3 separate regions of the Homo sapiens genome follow, and all the other regions are linked to region 1. The links are contacts of gene promoters, found by promoter capture Hi-C in blood cells and fetal thymus (Javierre and others, 2016). All regions are on one chromosome and are shown on one strand. The core of a region is centred on a gene start or on the middle of the fragment in contact, and the rest is flanking DNA. Distances in the headings are between cores, read along the strand shown. Region 1 holds the start of ZBTB11-AS1 (ZBTB11 antisense RNA 1). Region 2 overlaps TFG (trafficking from ER to golgi regulator). Region 3 has its middle 100 kb from the start of ZPLD1.

Evidence for each region. The method cuts DNA at HindIII sites, captures the fragments that hold promoters and counts their contacts. A CHiCAGO score of 5 or more calls a contact.
Region 2: a fragment that was not itself captured here is called in contact with the fragment with the promoter of ZBTB11-AS1 in region 1 in 2 of 17 cell types (monocytes and erythroblasts); the score reaches 8.1 in monocytes.
Region 3: a contact is called between a fragment that was not itself captured here and the fragment with the promoter of ZBTB11-AS1 in region 1, in 2 of 17 cell types (total CD4 T cells and activated CD4 T cells). The highest score is 6.4, in total CD4 T cells.

The regions. Positions count from the first base shown.
Region 1 is chr3:101,674,192-101,679,242 of GRCh38, forward strand. It overlaps ZBTB11-AS1 (ZBTB11 antisense RNA 1), which reads left to right and starts at 2,239. Exons shown (of 1, transcript NR_024407.1): 1 at 2,239-5,026. ZBTB11 (zinc finger and BTB domain containing 11) reads right to left here and starts at 2,941. Exons shown (of 11, transcript NM_014415.4): 1 at 2,414-2,941. The coding sequence starts at 2,723. It overlaps LOC124906262 (endogenous retrovirus group K member 5 Gag polyprotein), which reads left to right and starts at 2,254. Exons shown (of 3, transcript XM_047449415.1): 1 at 2,254-4,047. RefSeq lists enhancers at 1-185, 2,079-2,633 and a silencer at 1,993-2,362. The HindIII fragment of the contact is 10,842 bases long and covers 956-5,051 here.
Region 2 is chr3:100,731,411-100,736,461 of GRCh38, forward strand. It overlaps TFG (trafficking from ER to golgi regulator), which reads left to right. Exons shown (of 8, transcript NM_006070.6): 5 at 1,098-1,262. Among named protein-coding and RNA genes, the nearest start is that of TFG, 24 kb to the left of the region's middle. The HindIII fragment of the contact is 2,519 bases long and covers 1,468-3,986 here.
Region 3 is chr3:102,533,711-102,538,761 of GRCh38, forward strand. No RefSeq gene overlaps it. Among named protein-coding and RNA genes, the nearest start is that of ZPLD1, 100 kb to the left of the region's middle. RefSeq lists a silencer at 2,815-3,109. The HindIII fragment of the contact is 794 bases long and covers 2,761-3,554 here.

The sequences.
Region 1 (5,051 bases), core at 989-3,488:
TGTAGTCCCAGCTACTCCGGAGGCTGAGGCACCAGAATCACGTGAGCCTGGGAGGCGAAGGCTGCAGTGAGCCGAGATCGCGCCACTGTGCTCCGGCCTGGGTGACAGAACAAGACTCTGTCTCAAAGAAAAAAAGAGAAGAAAAGAAAGAAAGGAACAATGGGTTCGAGTTAAATATAACTTTATCAAAAAAGCATTTATATGAGTGTAGATTTAGAGACCAAAAGAGGTTGTATTGGCCGGGCGCTGTGGCTTACACCCGTAATCCCAGCGCTTTGGGAGGTCGAGGTGAGCAGATCATCTGAGCTCAGGAGTTCGAGCCCAGCCTGGCCAACATGGTGAAACCCCGTCGCTACTAAAAATAGAAAAATTAGCTGGGCGTGGTGTAATCCCAGCTACTCTGGAGACTGAGGCACCAGAATCGCTTGAACCCGGGAGGTGGAGTTGCAGTGAGCCGATATCGCGCCACTGCACTCCAGCCTGGGCAACAGAGTGACTCTGTCTCAATAAATAAATAAATAAAATAAATAAATAAATAAATAAACATCGTCTCAGGTTTTTGCCTTTTAAGACACTGCACACTAAAAATTAAAAAAAAAACAACTGGATTAGAATCACTCACAGATAATGAACTTAGAAAAAGAAAAATTCTGAACACAAAATACCACATAACACTGGGTTAAGAAAAGTGTGAGATCACAAAGGTCAGCTGTGTGACTTTTGTTGTGTTATTTAACATCCTAGTGCTTTTAGTTTTTTCATCTGTAAAACAGATAGAGGCTGAAAAGGGAGGATCATCTGAGCCTAGGAGGTCGAGGCTACAGTGAGCTGTGATCGTTGTCACTGCACCAAGCAAGACCCCCTACGCTCTGTCTCCAAAAAAGGGAGATAAGTATTAAGGTTTTATGAAGGTTAAATAAATGTCAAGGGCTAACGACTACATCCTGCATATACAAGCTTGATCAATGTTACCTATAGTTACAATTATCATCTTTAACAAATCCTGAAGTATTAAATCTGAGACATTTGTTCAACAAACTAATGTCTACCCAAACCCATCCAAACAAAATGCACTGATTACTTCATTACCTCATAATTTAATCTTCGCATTTGTCTGTCCTTACAGGAATTTAATTCAGATATTGGTTTAAAGTGGAAAATAAATGGAAGAATTTGATTATCCAATAGTTCGTAAACGAATAAACTTGATGATGTTTATAAACCGAAAAGAACTTTAGAAACTATTCAGTAATTTCGTTATTCACAGACGAAGTAACCAAGATTTGAATGAAATAACTTTTCTGTAGCCATATTGGAGAGTGACAGCACTGTTCCTAACAAAATTTCTTAAATGGGACTATAAACTATTAACTAATTCTGACAGTTTGAATATTCATTAACTGTGGAGAGTGAAGATGGTTAAGAAGCCAAGGACACTTGCTATCCTCCCTTACAACTGGTTCCCAAGGAGTCAAGTAACTTCAGAGCTGTATTTTTTGACAATCAAAAAGTCACAGTAATCGTACCTTTTCTGCGTATATACAATGCTACACAGTTCCCAAACGCGTTTTTCACATCATTAGGGGAAAGATTATTAAAACATTCAGAGTTACGAATATCAAGCTGGGCGCCGTGGCTCATGCCTGAAATCCCAACACTTTGGGAGGCCGAGGCGGGAGGATGGCTTGAGGCCAGATGGAGACCAGCTTGGGGAACGAGGCGAGACCCGTGTCTACTCAAACACCCCGCCCCCGCAAAACCAAACAACAAAAACAGTAACTGATATCTTTTACATTTACTTCTTGTTCTTAAAAAAAAACGCTCAAGGCGATTTCTCAATCACTCCTTATCACTTCTGCAAATAATTGTATTATTCCTTATTTACGCAGCAGCGGCAAAATTTGAGGAACACTAGCGAATGTGTCCAGAGCAGCTCATACTCGCTCGCCAAAACCCAAGCGCAGCACTAAAGAAACGGGAGACCCGGCTTCGGGTGACTCGTCCCCCCTTCCAAACGTCAGCACAGTCGAAAACGTGCACCCCGCAGCCTCCACTGCCGCGAGCCACACGCCACCTCCAGAGGGCCGGGGCCTACAGCCTCAAGGGGCCGCCCAAGGAGGCGGACCTGGCGCAGCCCAGGCGTCCGGCCCCTCCCCGCGGCTGGCCCGGCCTCCGGGGAAGCCCCCTTGGTCCCACCCAGGGCCAGGGCCCGCCCCCAGCTTCGCCGGCCTCCTTCCTGTGGGAAGTGCGGCTCCTTTCGCGTCCCCCACCCTCTCGGCTCCGCCTGGCAGCAGCTCCGCCGCCCAGAGGCGTCCGAGACCCTCCGACTCGTGGGTACGCATAGGCCTCGCCAGCGAGCCTTGCCCAGGCAACGAGTCGCCAGCCCGCCCCCTCGCCGCGGGCTAGGTCTCACCTCGCCACCAGTACGTCTTGGACAAGTAGTGCCAGGTCTGATGCCGGGTGTGGTGAGTGCCGCCGGGACCCAGGTGCGCCGCCTCGATGAGGTCCCGGCGTCGCTCCGGCTGCAGCACCACCTCCAGCTCCGCGAAGGTCTTGCGGTGCCGCTGCCGCCGCTGGTAATACAGAGTCCCGCCGCGCACCACGTAGCAGGCGGCAGCTTTTCGGATTTTACGCTTGACATTGCCCTCGGTGCCCGGCGCATACGGCTCGCGCTCGTTCGTCAGGTAACGCAGGATGGCCCGGTAGCTTTCCTCGCTTGACATCGCGGACCGCGGCTCCCTGAGGGCGCCTGTCAGGGACAGGTGAGGAAAACGGCCCGCTACCTACGGGCGGCTGCAGGAGGAGCGGCGGCACCGTAGGGAGAAACGGCTGCGCCTTTGGCGAGCGCTCTTCGACGGCTCCCTTAGTCCGAAGGAAAAGCGGGCGAGTTGGTAACCAGGGGGAACTGCACTTCTCCAGCGCGCGGGATCCGCTGGCGACTGACAAAATGGCTGCTGCACCACCGGAAGTGACGCAAGGCAAGGGCGGGGACTGAGCCCTGATTGGAGCGCACTCTCGTTTTCTGGCTTGATGGAGCCGATCCAGTGACGTCAGGAATGCGGGTGGACATTTTGGAAGCGGGTAGGACCCTTCACTGCAGTTCGAGGGAGTCTTTAAGCAGACATCTTAAGTCCTGGCAGTTTCTCTTTTCATTTTTCCCTTTTCCACGCTTTCTAAGGAGCCACGTGTAGGGGGAGCTGGTGGACAGTTGAGAGTTCAGCCGAAACATCCAGAGGGTTAGGAGTCCGTTTTTACGTTTGAGACTCCCAACATCATAAAAGCATATTTTCAGGCTTCTGGAAAAATATTAGTCTCTTGACACGGGACCAGAGACAGCCCATTTACATGGAAATTTAGATTCCAGTTAACAGTTATAAAATTTTCAGTGCCTCCCTCAGTGATGAGTTATTGTTTCTAAACTTGCACCTGCTAGCTCCAGACTACTCAAGGAAGAGTCGAGATTCTTTTGGAATTATCAGCATTTATAGTCAATGTTATTGCGAGTGGAAAAGGGGGTCGGTAACACTATTTTAAGGCTTTATTTACATATATTTTTACACAAACGTAGGGGAAAAGGTTCTCCATTTTGCACCAAATATATATGAGGGTGCAAGAAGGGGAGCGGACTTGAGCTGCGTCTCCCAGTGCGTGCTGAGGATGCTAATACAGGTATTTAGCTGGTAATCCCGGAGCAGCGACCCCGGTCACCCTTTCCTGGGACGAATCTGCAGCGCTCACAGGGGCCCAGGGCTGACATCCCTCCTCGGGGACTGGGGTTGGACACTGTCGCCGCTTTGCTAAAGCCAGAACATTTCAGGCCGAGGGCTCCAGCTGCAGACACGGCCTAGTACACTTCTCCACCGGAGGGTCTGTAGTCTCTGGGTGAGGCCCTTTGACGCTCCTAGAAGTAGCTGACGGGCAGACAGGTGAATACAGTAGGCTCGAAAACAGAATCATACAGCCAGCCTCTGGTGTTAGGGGCGTGTTTTTGTGTGTGTGCACACGCAGTAATTCCCGGATGGCCCGGACATCCTTGAAAGATTCCAGGTGCGGGGACATGAGCTCTCAAGGCCCAGAAGAAAAAAGAAACTACCAGGCTTGGGATCTACTTAGTTGCTGAGTTTGCCACTATAGCTCAAAGGAGGAATTTAAAAATGGAGATGCACCTCTTTCCCCCATGGGGTCGGGCAGTGAGAGCAGAAGACCAAATGCACCCTCTGCGAACCCAGGAGGCTGGTCTACGTGTCAGGCCAACCCCACTCTCCTGTCATACTGTCTTTAAATATTTTGGCCGGGCGCGGTGACTCACGCCTGTAATCCCAGCACTTTGGGAGGCCGAGGCGGGCAAATCACGAGGTCAGGAGATGGAGACCATCCTGGCTAACATGGTGAAACCCTGTCTCTACTGGGCCTGAAGTCCCAGCTACTCGGGAGGCTGAGGCAGGAGGATCGCTTGAACCCGGGAAGCAGAGGTTGTAGCGAGCCGAGATTGTGCCACTGCATTCCAGCCTGGGTGACAGAGGGAGACTCCGTCTCAAAAAAATAAAAAAACTAAACATTTTAAGTTAATTGATATTTAATATTAAATATTTAATATATTAAGTGAATACATTCAAATCTGCAAACAATACAGCTAGGTTGTAGAAGAGTTAAAAAAATCCCTCCACTCAGTTTTTGCCAAAACACCACCTGTAAGCACTGAGAAGCCTACTGATGCACGCATTATCCTTTGGGCCAATAGAAACAAACGTTTTAATAAAATGCTTTCCCAGTGGTCAAATTGTCTTCCTGAGTAAAGCTAAACTTGCTGTAGTGAGAACAGGTAGTGTTTATTTCTAGCTTCTTCTGGGTCCCAGGTTACCTAAGACCCAAGGGTAATGACAATGGGCAGCTCCACTTTATTAAAAGCCAACATTTAGCCCAGACATTTTATTCTCCAAAAATCAGCAAGCATAGCTTTACATTCAAGTTGGGTATAATGACTTTATTTTCCCAGTAATTCCCTAAATAAAACTATTACAAAAAATGACTCTTCCCAGTGCAAAATCTTA
Region 2 (5,051 bases), core at 1,477-3,976, 940 kb before region 1:
TTTAAATTTAACCTGCTCATAATATTTGACATTTTGTTTTTCTGTTGTTGTTTTAAACATTTTATTATAGAAAAGTTTAAGTATATAAGAAAGTAGACATTATAATGAATCCCAGAAACCCACATCCAGTTTCAACAGTTACCAACTTATAGTATCATATAATTACACTATACACATTTCCGCCCCTCCTGTTACCCAGAGTGGAGTACAATCTCAGCTCACTACAAACTTTGCCTCCTGGGTTCAAGTGATTCTCGTGACTCAGCCTCCTGAGTAGCTGGGATTACAGGCATGCATCACTGTGCCTAGCTAATTTTTGTATTTTTGGTAGAGATTGGGTTTTGCCAGGCTGGTCTCGAGCTCCTGACCTCAAGTGATCTACCCACCTCGGCCTCTCAAAGTGCTGGAATTACAGGCATGAGCTGTTGCACCCGGCTCCCCTCCTGTATTATTTTGATGCAGATCCCATATACATCATTTCATCTGTAAGCATTTTAATAAGTATTTTAATAAGTAATACATATTAAAATAGAAGGTAGCAAATTCAAAAATGTTTTTAATGTGCTATTTATGGAAGATTATGAATTAATTATGGTTGGCTTGATTTCCATGTAATTTAATAGTGGACCAGTAGACAGTAGAAATAAAATGTAAAATTTGAGATTATAACCTTAGTTCAGTTTCTTTTTATAAAATAAAGCCTTAGTTCCTATAATTATTATTTCCAGAGTGCCCAGTGGGTATCTGATACTAGGATATAGGTTATTGGGCTCCAAAAAAACCAAAAAAAGTAAAATGTTTCTCTTTATCAAGGAGCTTGTATTTTTTTCATCTAATGTTTCTTACAAAAGGAGGTAAATAATTTTTTTGGAAAGCTTTTGTTCATCTTCTGTTTCTTTTTGCCCTCTTCTCCCTGTTACTAGAAGGAAAAATATAAAAAAAATAAAGGAATTAAAATGATCTGTAATCCTATATTCCGACATGCTTAACATTCCAGACTATCATTATACACCTGCATTATTTCCCTTGTACTTTTAGGCCTTACTGAATATAGATAAAAAGGAAACAAGTTTTTGTTTATTCCTCTATTTTTACAGATACTGTGGATGGTAGGGAAGAAAAGTCTGCTTCTGATTCTTCTGGAAAACAGTCTACTCAGGTTATGGCAGCAAGTATGTCTGCTTTTGATCCTTTAAAAAACCAAGATGAAATCAATAAAAATGTTATGTCAGCGTTTGGCTTAACAGATGATCAGGTTTCAGGTAAGTTGGTTTCCAACTCCTTTACACCCTTCGTTTCCTTCATCTTTCCGTTCTTCCCTTTCCTTCTTTCTTTAATTGAAGAATAACTTGGATATGGTGAAGTGCACAAATCTTAAGGGTTCTGCTTAACAAATTTTTACATATGTGTACACTTATGTAAAAGACTAACTAGATTAAGATGTAGATGATTTCCAGCACTTCAGAAAGCTTTCTTATGTCCTCTCCCCAAGAGTAGCACCCTCCCCCTTAAAGAATAAGCACTGTTGGGTTCAAGTAAATTTTTGAAAGTAAAATTTAGAAAGTTTTTAAAAATCTGAACTATTTTATAATTTGATTAGTTGCAGTATTCGAATTATATTTGATTTGTCTTATCTCCTCATCTTAGAGAAATTGAAAATTAAATGTAGATTTTCTTGTTAAATTGCTTGAGTATACAGTGGGTTTTTATATAAATAAGTTTTTAACCTTAAAGCAGTACCTATATTGTTTTATTCTGTTTAACTTTTGGTTATAATTTCTTCATTATTTTTTCCTGCTTTTTCTCTTTTCGGATTCTAATAACACATACATTGGAGAGCTTGATACTGTCTCATGGGTCATTAAGGTTCATTTTTCTTCAGTCTTCTCTCTGTTCTTCAGGTTGGGTGATTTCTGTTGAACTCTTCAAGGTCGCTGTGATTTCTAATATGCTGTGGAACCTTTCTAGTGAATTGTTTAATTGTGCTTTCAGCTCTAGAATTTCCATTGGGTTTTTATAGTTTCTGTTTTTCTGTTGAGATTCTTTATTTTACATTCATTAAGTCTATATTTTCCTTTAATTGTTTGAATGTATTTATGTTTGATTCTTTAAAAATATTTAGCTGCTTTAAAATGTTTATCTGCAATATGTAACACTTGGACCCATTTGGAGTCAGTTTCTATTGACTGGGTTCCTCTCCCCCACACACACTCCCCCCAACTCCAGTAGGGTCACATTTTTCTGTTTCTTTGCCTGTCTGATAGTGTTTGGTTGAAAACTAGACATTCTGGTTAATATGTTGTAGTGACTTGGACTTATATTCTTTTGAGGATTTTCTGTTATTGTTGATCTAGCAGGGAGTTGATTTGTATGGACTTAACATAAATAACAAACAGAAAAGCGCTCTCTAAAAGAAAAAGGTATTTGGGAATAGAGCATTGCATTGAAAATATGCATGCCATAGTAAACTATGTGCATATTCAGTGAGGTAAAGGCAGACAAAGGTTTTTAAAGGAAAAAATGAGGAGAATATATAATTGTTTTGAAATAATTATTGTTGGCTACAAAGATCATTAGCAAGAGTGATGCCAGTCTGAGGTTGGACAGGCAGTTTCTGGGCAGATGTCCTCACAGTCACAGAAGTTTTTTTTTTTGCTTTTTTTTTTGCAAAGTTGTGATGGCCTTTGTGTAGGCTTGTGGTTTTTGAACTCTTTTGTGATAGTTTTTGCAAGAATCCTCTCTTCATGGCCTTATCAGAGTTTTTAATTTTTTTTTAACATTAATGACTTCATTTTGGTTTTGATAACTTTCACATACTCAAAACTGCTCCTTCTTTCTCCCTATGGTGTATAGCAGCTGATATGTATGCTCAGTCCTTTCAGCTTGCTCTAGGTGCTGCATTTTTCTCTGAGCCTTCTTGAGATATCCTCGTCTGCTCTCCCAGCCCTATAGTCAGCTGGGGATTTGGACAGAGTGTATATACCTAGATCGTGGGTCTTACCCTTTCAGTAGCACCTTCACTTCCGGGATTTTCCTCCTAAATCTTCAGCTGCTTGTCTAGCCATAAGGTTGTTAACACTGTGGTTTTCTGCCATTGGAGCTGCAGAGGTCAGCGCTTTTAATTCTTATCCATTCTAATTTTATTGGGGTAAACTCCTCTGGTTTCTGATTGACTTTCAGTTATTTCAAATAGTTTCTTTTGTTTTGTTCATGTTTTTAGTTGTTACCTGGGAGAGAGTTTATCTGATGGATTTACTTTGCCTTTATCAGTAGTTGGAAATGTGTACAGTCCATTTTGTATTTCTTAGAGACTTTCATGGAATTACTCACAAAAGAGAATTGTGTGAAAATTTGATGAGGTCAGACTTTTAAATTTTGATTTAAATGTAGTATATTCCAGACTAGAATAATATTAATATGATTCACATTATTTGAAGACCATTTTTCTCACAGCTTTGTATGTTGAATTATAGTAGGAAAAACTGTATGCATAGCTAGGATACTTTTGTAGTTCTTCAGGTGTGATGTGGTAAAAATGTGGCTTATTAGAATAATGAATGTGGCAGTGGGAAGGAGGGATAAAATATTACAAACATGGAATGAATATTAACTGTAATAAATTACATATAAGGGAGGAAAGAGGAGCCAAAGTAATAAATATATATATTTAGGCTAATAACAGTGTCTTTTGTGGGAAGAATGTGTGTATTTATCTACATAGATATAAATTTAAGTAAAATGGTGGTAGATAGAAACCATCATCCATTTTATTTTGGCAATCATCAGTCTCTCTTGCATTACCACTATTATATCCTAGTTTAGGTTCTTATTAATACTTGGACTGTCAGCTGTCAACTGTGCCTAATACTGTGGTAAGTTCTGGGGATACATCAGAGCAGAAGATAGAGGTTTGCCCTTAGAGAAATTAGTCTGCTGATAATAGCAAGTACTTATATGGAACTTTCTGAGTAGTAGTCACTTTTATAAGCTTTTGCTGTATAATTCCTTTTATAAGCCCATGCTATAAGCTCTTGTAAACTCATAATCCTCACAATAACCTTATCAAGTAGGAATTAGTATATCCTTTGTACAGATGAGGAAACTGAGGCACAGAAAGAGATTATGTAACATGTCCAGAGTTACACAGCTAGTGAGTGACAGCACTAGGATTTGAACCTGGGTAGTCTAGCTCCAAAACCTATGCTTTTAACCACTCTTCTGCATTGCCAAAGCAGAAAGAATTTAAAGGAATAAGACATATTTACATTGTCCTCAGAATATCTTTTTTGACTGTCACAGCATTGGAACTGTAATATATTCTCTCCATTCATTTCTGTGTTCATTATTTTGTAAGAATTATAGTGGCTCCATATGTAAGTTAGAGTGCTAGGCCTTGTTCGGCAGACAAAAAGAATCAACAGTCAGGAGCCCGGCCAAAAGAGTGCAGAGTCTTTAAGAGGGAAAGTGAGAGCTATTCAGAAATGCAAAGTAGAAGTCAGTATGAGTTAACAAAAGTAAACTAGATAGAAGTTCACTAGTAGAAAAAGTATTCATGAGTCAAGAAGGCTTACTAGAAGTGTGGAATTATAATTGGATTTTAAATAATGTTATATTTAAATATGTGAATGTTATATTTAAATATATGGGATCTAGTGGGAGAGAAATAGAGGTCAAAAAAATATTAGCTATGTTATGGGAGTAGGGAGAAGGTTAGTTTAGCTGAAAGGGAGGCATGTGAGAAGAGAAATTGTGAGAAATAATGTTTGGACCCTTAATGCCAAACTAGGAGGTTGAACTTAATTTATGGTCAGTGAAGACCCCTTGAAGAATGAAGTGACAATTTTGGTTCCTGTGCAGAATACATTGCTTGGAGTAGGGGGATATTGGCATTGCAGACATGAGTTTTGATTTTTGCAGGGAGAGGTTAAGACTCAGGAATATAGTACTCTACACTTTATAAGGAAGGAGTTCCAGTTGTAGCTTTGGATTAAGAGATTGGAGCAAAGGAAAAAATAAAGTACATACATTTAATGTAAAAAGGCGTATTTGTG
Region 3 (5,051 bases), core at 1,908-4,407, 860 kb after region 1:
ATGGAAGTCACAGGGAAGCACAGATTTATTGTGGGAGGGGACTACACAAGATTATGAATGCCAGAAGGCATGGTTCATTGGGGACATCTTTTAAAACTCGCTAACTCGTTATCATAGGACACTTACATTTTAATAAACAATAAATAGGTTTTTTTCTTAAGTAATTTTAAGCACCAGGACTGTGTGTTCCTTCCTTTCTGCAAAACTTTCTTCCTTTTAGCTTTCTACTCAAATTCTCTATCACTTTCACTCACCACTCTCTCCATCACTTCCACTTCCTTGTCTCCACTTGTCTCTATCACTTTCCTTCGTTCTGGTTCCTTTGCTTTTCTCCCCCAAAACTGGCAAGACTCAACATCCAGGTCTTGTCACTCTCTCTTACTAAGCTTCCATTGTGTTTTCCCCATAGAGTTAAACTCATTACAGTTCGTTTATGAGTTCTCCTTGACCTTCTTCACTGAGTCCACCTCCCACCACTCTTTCTGTGTGTCCTAAGCTCTAGTCATTTTTGATCATTAATACTTTCTTGAGTAAGATGTGTTCCTTCATATCTTTATGCTGTTCCAGATACTATTTCTTCTGACAAGAAGGAAGAAACATGTTTCTAAACCACTTAGTGTTCTCTAGTCTGCTCTTGGAACAAGTTAGGAGAATGTTCCTCTCCTTCAGCTTTCTCTGCATGATTGATTTCTCTTTCTTCTTCCTTTTCTTAGCACTTTTGATATAGAATTGATTTTATTGCATTGTAAACACTTCAGAGTGTCTCTCTTTCCAGAGATGTCGTATTCATCTCTGTGTCTTCTCACTCTAGTGTTTCACAGTGTCTAAAATATAGATGTTACAATCATACTGAATTGGCTGGCTGAATTATTTTATTCTTATTTTCCTTCCTCAACAATTACCTCTATGTTGGTGCCCATATTTTTCTATAACCCTTTAGCTATGAAATCACATTTCATACTGCCTATTGGAATTTATACTTAGTCTCCTATGGTCACCTCAAAAATAGCATTTCTAGAGCCACATTTACTGTCTTTCCCTCCCAAATTTCATAGTCTCTTTCAGTGAAACCACCATTATCCCAGTTAACAAGAGTAACTTTTGTCCCCTTCATTCATCCAAATCAGTCAGTCTTAGATTTTAGGCATTATTTTCTTTTGACATTGCTCTCATATTTACTTTTGTGAATATATCCTTACTGCTGTCCTTTTAGCCCAGACCTTCTCATGCATGAATGATCACCTTGCTGTTTTGTCTTGTTTTCCTCTCTAATCCCTTCCTCTCTCATGGCTAGGCTGATATTTCTTCTTCTTCTTCTTCTTTTTTTTTTTTTGAGATGGAGTCTCACTCTGTCGCCCAGGCTGGAGTGCAGTGGCAGGATCTTGGCTCACTGCAACCTCCGCCCCACAGGTTCAAGCGATTCCCCTGCCTCAGCCTCCCAAGTAGCTGGAATTATAGGCACCTGCCACCATGCCCAACTAATTTTTTTGTATTTTTAGTAGAGACAGGGTTTTGCCATGTTGGCCAGGTTGGTCTCCAACTCCTGACCTCAGGTGATCCCCCTGCCTTGGCCTCCAAAAGTGCTGGGGTTACAGGTGTGAGCCACCGGGCCCAGCATAGGCTGATTTTTCTAAAACAACTCTTTCACAGTGTTGCTCTGGTGCTCCTCGAAATGGTGTTTGCTGTCAAATTAAATCTACTCTTCTGCTTGCTTCTCATGGCCTTCCACAATCCAAACCCCACTCCGCCAATCTTTCTCTGTTTCCCCCTTTTAAGTAGCATCCACCCACATTACCTTTCCTCATTGATTCTGGCTTAAATGAACACTTGTTCAATCCCAGTTGCAAGGTCAATCTGTCTGGAAGGTTCTCCTCTTGCACCTTTCCCCTTCTCACATGTCAATATCCTTCCCATCCTTCCAGGATGTGTTCAAGTTTGAATCATCTATTATTTTTCTTTCAACTTCCTCCTGCCTTCCCTACTCTCTCTGAGCTCTGAGTGCAGAAATATTATGTCAGAACTACTGTGTTTACTGTGCTTTACCAACATATGTGCTTCTTGAGGTGAGAGATTATGGTTTATCTTCCTCAGTAATTCTCACAGTGTCATAATGTCCAGCACAATGCTGTGTAGTAGATGACCATGTAACATTAGTGGGTAATTACATGAACTTGTAGTGGTAGCATTTTCTGGGTCATCATCTATAGGCCAGTGGGATGATATTTTCTCAAGATAATTTTAAAAGGCAAGAAAAAAGAAGGCTTCTTATTTCTAATTTCCAGATAAGATATCCCCTACCTTGTCCCTGGATGATAGAACTGGATATTGTAAAATAATAGTAATTAGTATTTGAATGCCATTTAACTCTTTATAAAGCACCTTAACTGATATTTGCTTATTCATAATTCTGTAAGTTCTTCCAAAATTACTATACACTTTGAGGCTGGTGGTGTGATGTGTGAAGATGAGATAGAGGAAGTAAGCGTGGAGGATTTGGATTTGCAAAAACATTTGATAATGTATTGCTTTTCATTGGTCTCAAGGAGGTCTATTTCTAGGAGTATTGAGAAAGATATATATGTGTATATGTTTACCCATTTACCAGAAAATGGGTTTACTTCTCTAACGTTTTAGCAATAAAAAGAATTCCAGATATGCAGCAAATAAATCTGACTGTTAGTCAGCCCTCAGGAGCTGCTGATAGCAAAAGACTGAAGATCCTATATTTCTATATTCAGATCATACTACTGAGGGATTTCAAGCTTCTCTTTCTCAAGCCAGCTTTTATGGTTTAATAGTTTTTCTGTTATGAAAATAAAGCAGATGACACAAAATTTCAGAGAAAGACAGCAAAAGTAAGAGCCAAAGAAAAGAAGGAGTGGAAGTGAAAAACGCTTCAGTGAAAAAACTGGAGAGCTGACACTTTGGCACCGAAATGTTAATGCTTATTTTTAAGATTATATCGCCACCTAGTAAATAAGCTCAGAAATACAACCACAGAAAATGACAGCTTGTCTGGTGCTGAGCTCTAATCCTCTGGTTAGCAATTCCTGGGAGCACCTTTCCTTCTAAACATCTGCACACACAAATGTGCTACCTGCGCACGCTTTTAGAGTTCTCGTTGTTCAGGCTCAGCCCACGTTCTCCTGTTCATTTAGAGCAATGTGATGGAAAAGTCAACAGCACACATTTTAGAAATGAAAACAAGCCAAGGATTTCTATCAAGGAACCTGTTATCTACTCTTGAAAAATGATTAGTTAAAACCATACATATTATCATTTGCCAGTTCTGAATAATTCTGGGATTTTCATTAATGAAAATATTTTGCATTTTCTACTTTCATTTCTGTATAGAACCGAAGTGGTCTGTTCATGGTCTTTCTTGGTTAGGAAGCATTGGAACTAGGGAATTAAAAACACTAAAGACTGCTTAAAATTTTTCTTGTCTTTAGTTTTTCTGTTATTGTGAACAATCTTTTATTTCTTCTGCAGTGTTTGTTTGTACTGAATGCTTTATGCTTGATCACCCACCCTGATTCTGTTTTTGTACAAAAAGCTTGTTAGCTTGATAAAGCACTGCATAGGGTTTTAGTTGGTTGCTCAATAGATGATTATCTGGGTGGCATCCTGGCTATAGCCCTTGCTAGTTCCAATTTTGTAATCTGTGAGCTAGGGATAACAATAGTGCATACATCACTGGGCATTTGGGAGAAATAAATTAAGCAGCAAGTACTCAAAAATGTTAACTATTATTATTAATAATAAAAATAGATCGATTAGAAATGGTAGAAACAAAGGATAGAGACTGATTTCATCTTGCTCAATAGATCAAAATGGCACAGGAGATAAAAAGGTTTTAACCAAACACATAGATACAGATAAAGAAGGCATATATTCTGAGACTAGAAAACCATTCATTCTTAAAAATTCAGGTGATTAAATTTTAAAAAATTATTAAATTTTAATCATATTTAAAAATGATTGAATTCAAGTACTTAGAAACCTTGAAAATATACCTCCATTATTTTTTTCTATGCTATCTTTTTTTGAACGAAATCTATCCTCACTTCAGCCTTCCAAATAATAACTCCATTTTATTTTGAGGGCTGTTTAGAATAAACATGATTAAAGAAATTAGCCAAGAGTTTAGGGTATGAAGTGGGAGAGGGGAGATTTTTGTTACGAGAGCCTTTTTCATGGGGGTTATCAGGCATAAAATTATCAATTTTGTTTAACCCAGACGTGGCAGATTCTGCTATTTATCCCAGAATAACCATTGTTTTTCTTTTTCTTTCAATAGAACTTTGTGCTGGTACATGATTATACAGCCAAATATGCCCTAGCTTCTTAAGTGTGGCATCAACTGTGTGATATGTGCTAACTTTGGTGCCATGCCTTCATGAAGAACATGCATTTTCTTCTCCCCTTGTCTTTTTCTACCTTTCTGCTGGCTGGAATGTGGATATGATGATGGGAATGGAACAGCCACTGAACCAAGAGAAGGAAGCTAAGTTTTAAAGAGAAATAGAGCAACAAGATAAAGGAAGCCTGGCTTCCCATCACTTCTGATGTGCCGTAACAGCCCTGGAATGCCTATGCAGACCTTACATGAGAAATAAGCCAATGCCTGTCTGACTTAAGCTTAAATATTTTTTTTTAGTTTCTTTATTACAGTAGCCTAAACTGTACTACAACTAATTCTAATGGTCTACAAAGAGTCACAAGCCCTAGAAATATGAATATAAAATTATAGATGTTAAGTTTGACGTCTGCACGCTGCAAGGCACTGCTTCCTAAAGAGTGGTCTTTCATTTGATATTGGACTTTTATCAAAGAAAAAAGACTTTTAATGTACACCAAAAAAGGTCCTCTTAATAGGTGGTAGGAGGATTCTATTGTGTGGGGCTATCAAAGCGGTATCCCGCTTTCTTAAAAAAAAATGGAGAGGCTACGAAGAAATTAACTCAGGATAGAAGGTGGCTTGTCTGGTTACCTGGCATCCAAGCTTCTTGTAGAACAAAAAAACAAGTGCAGATGAAAATGACAGGGAA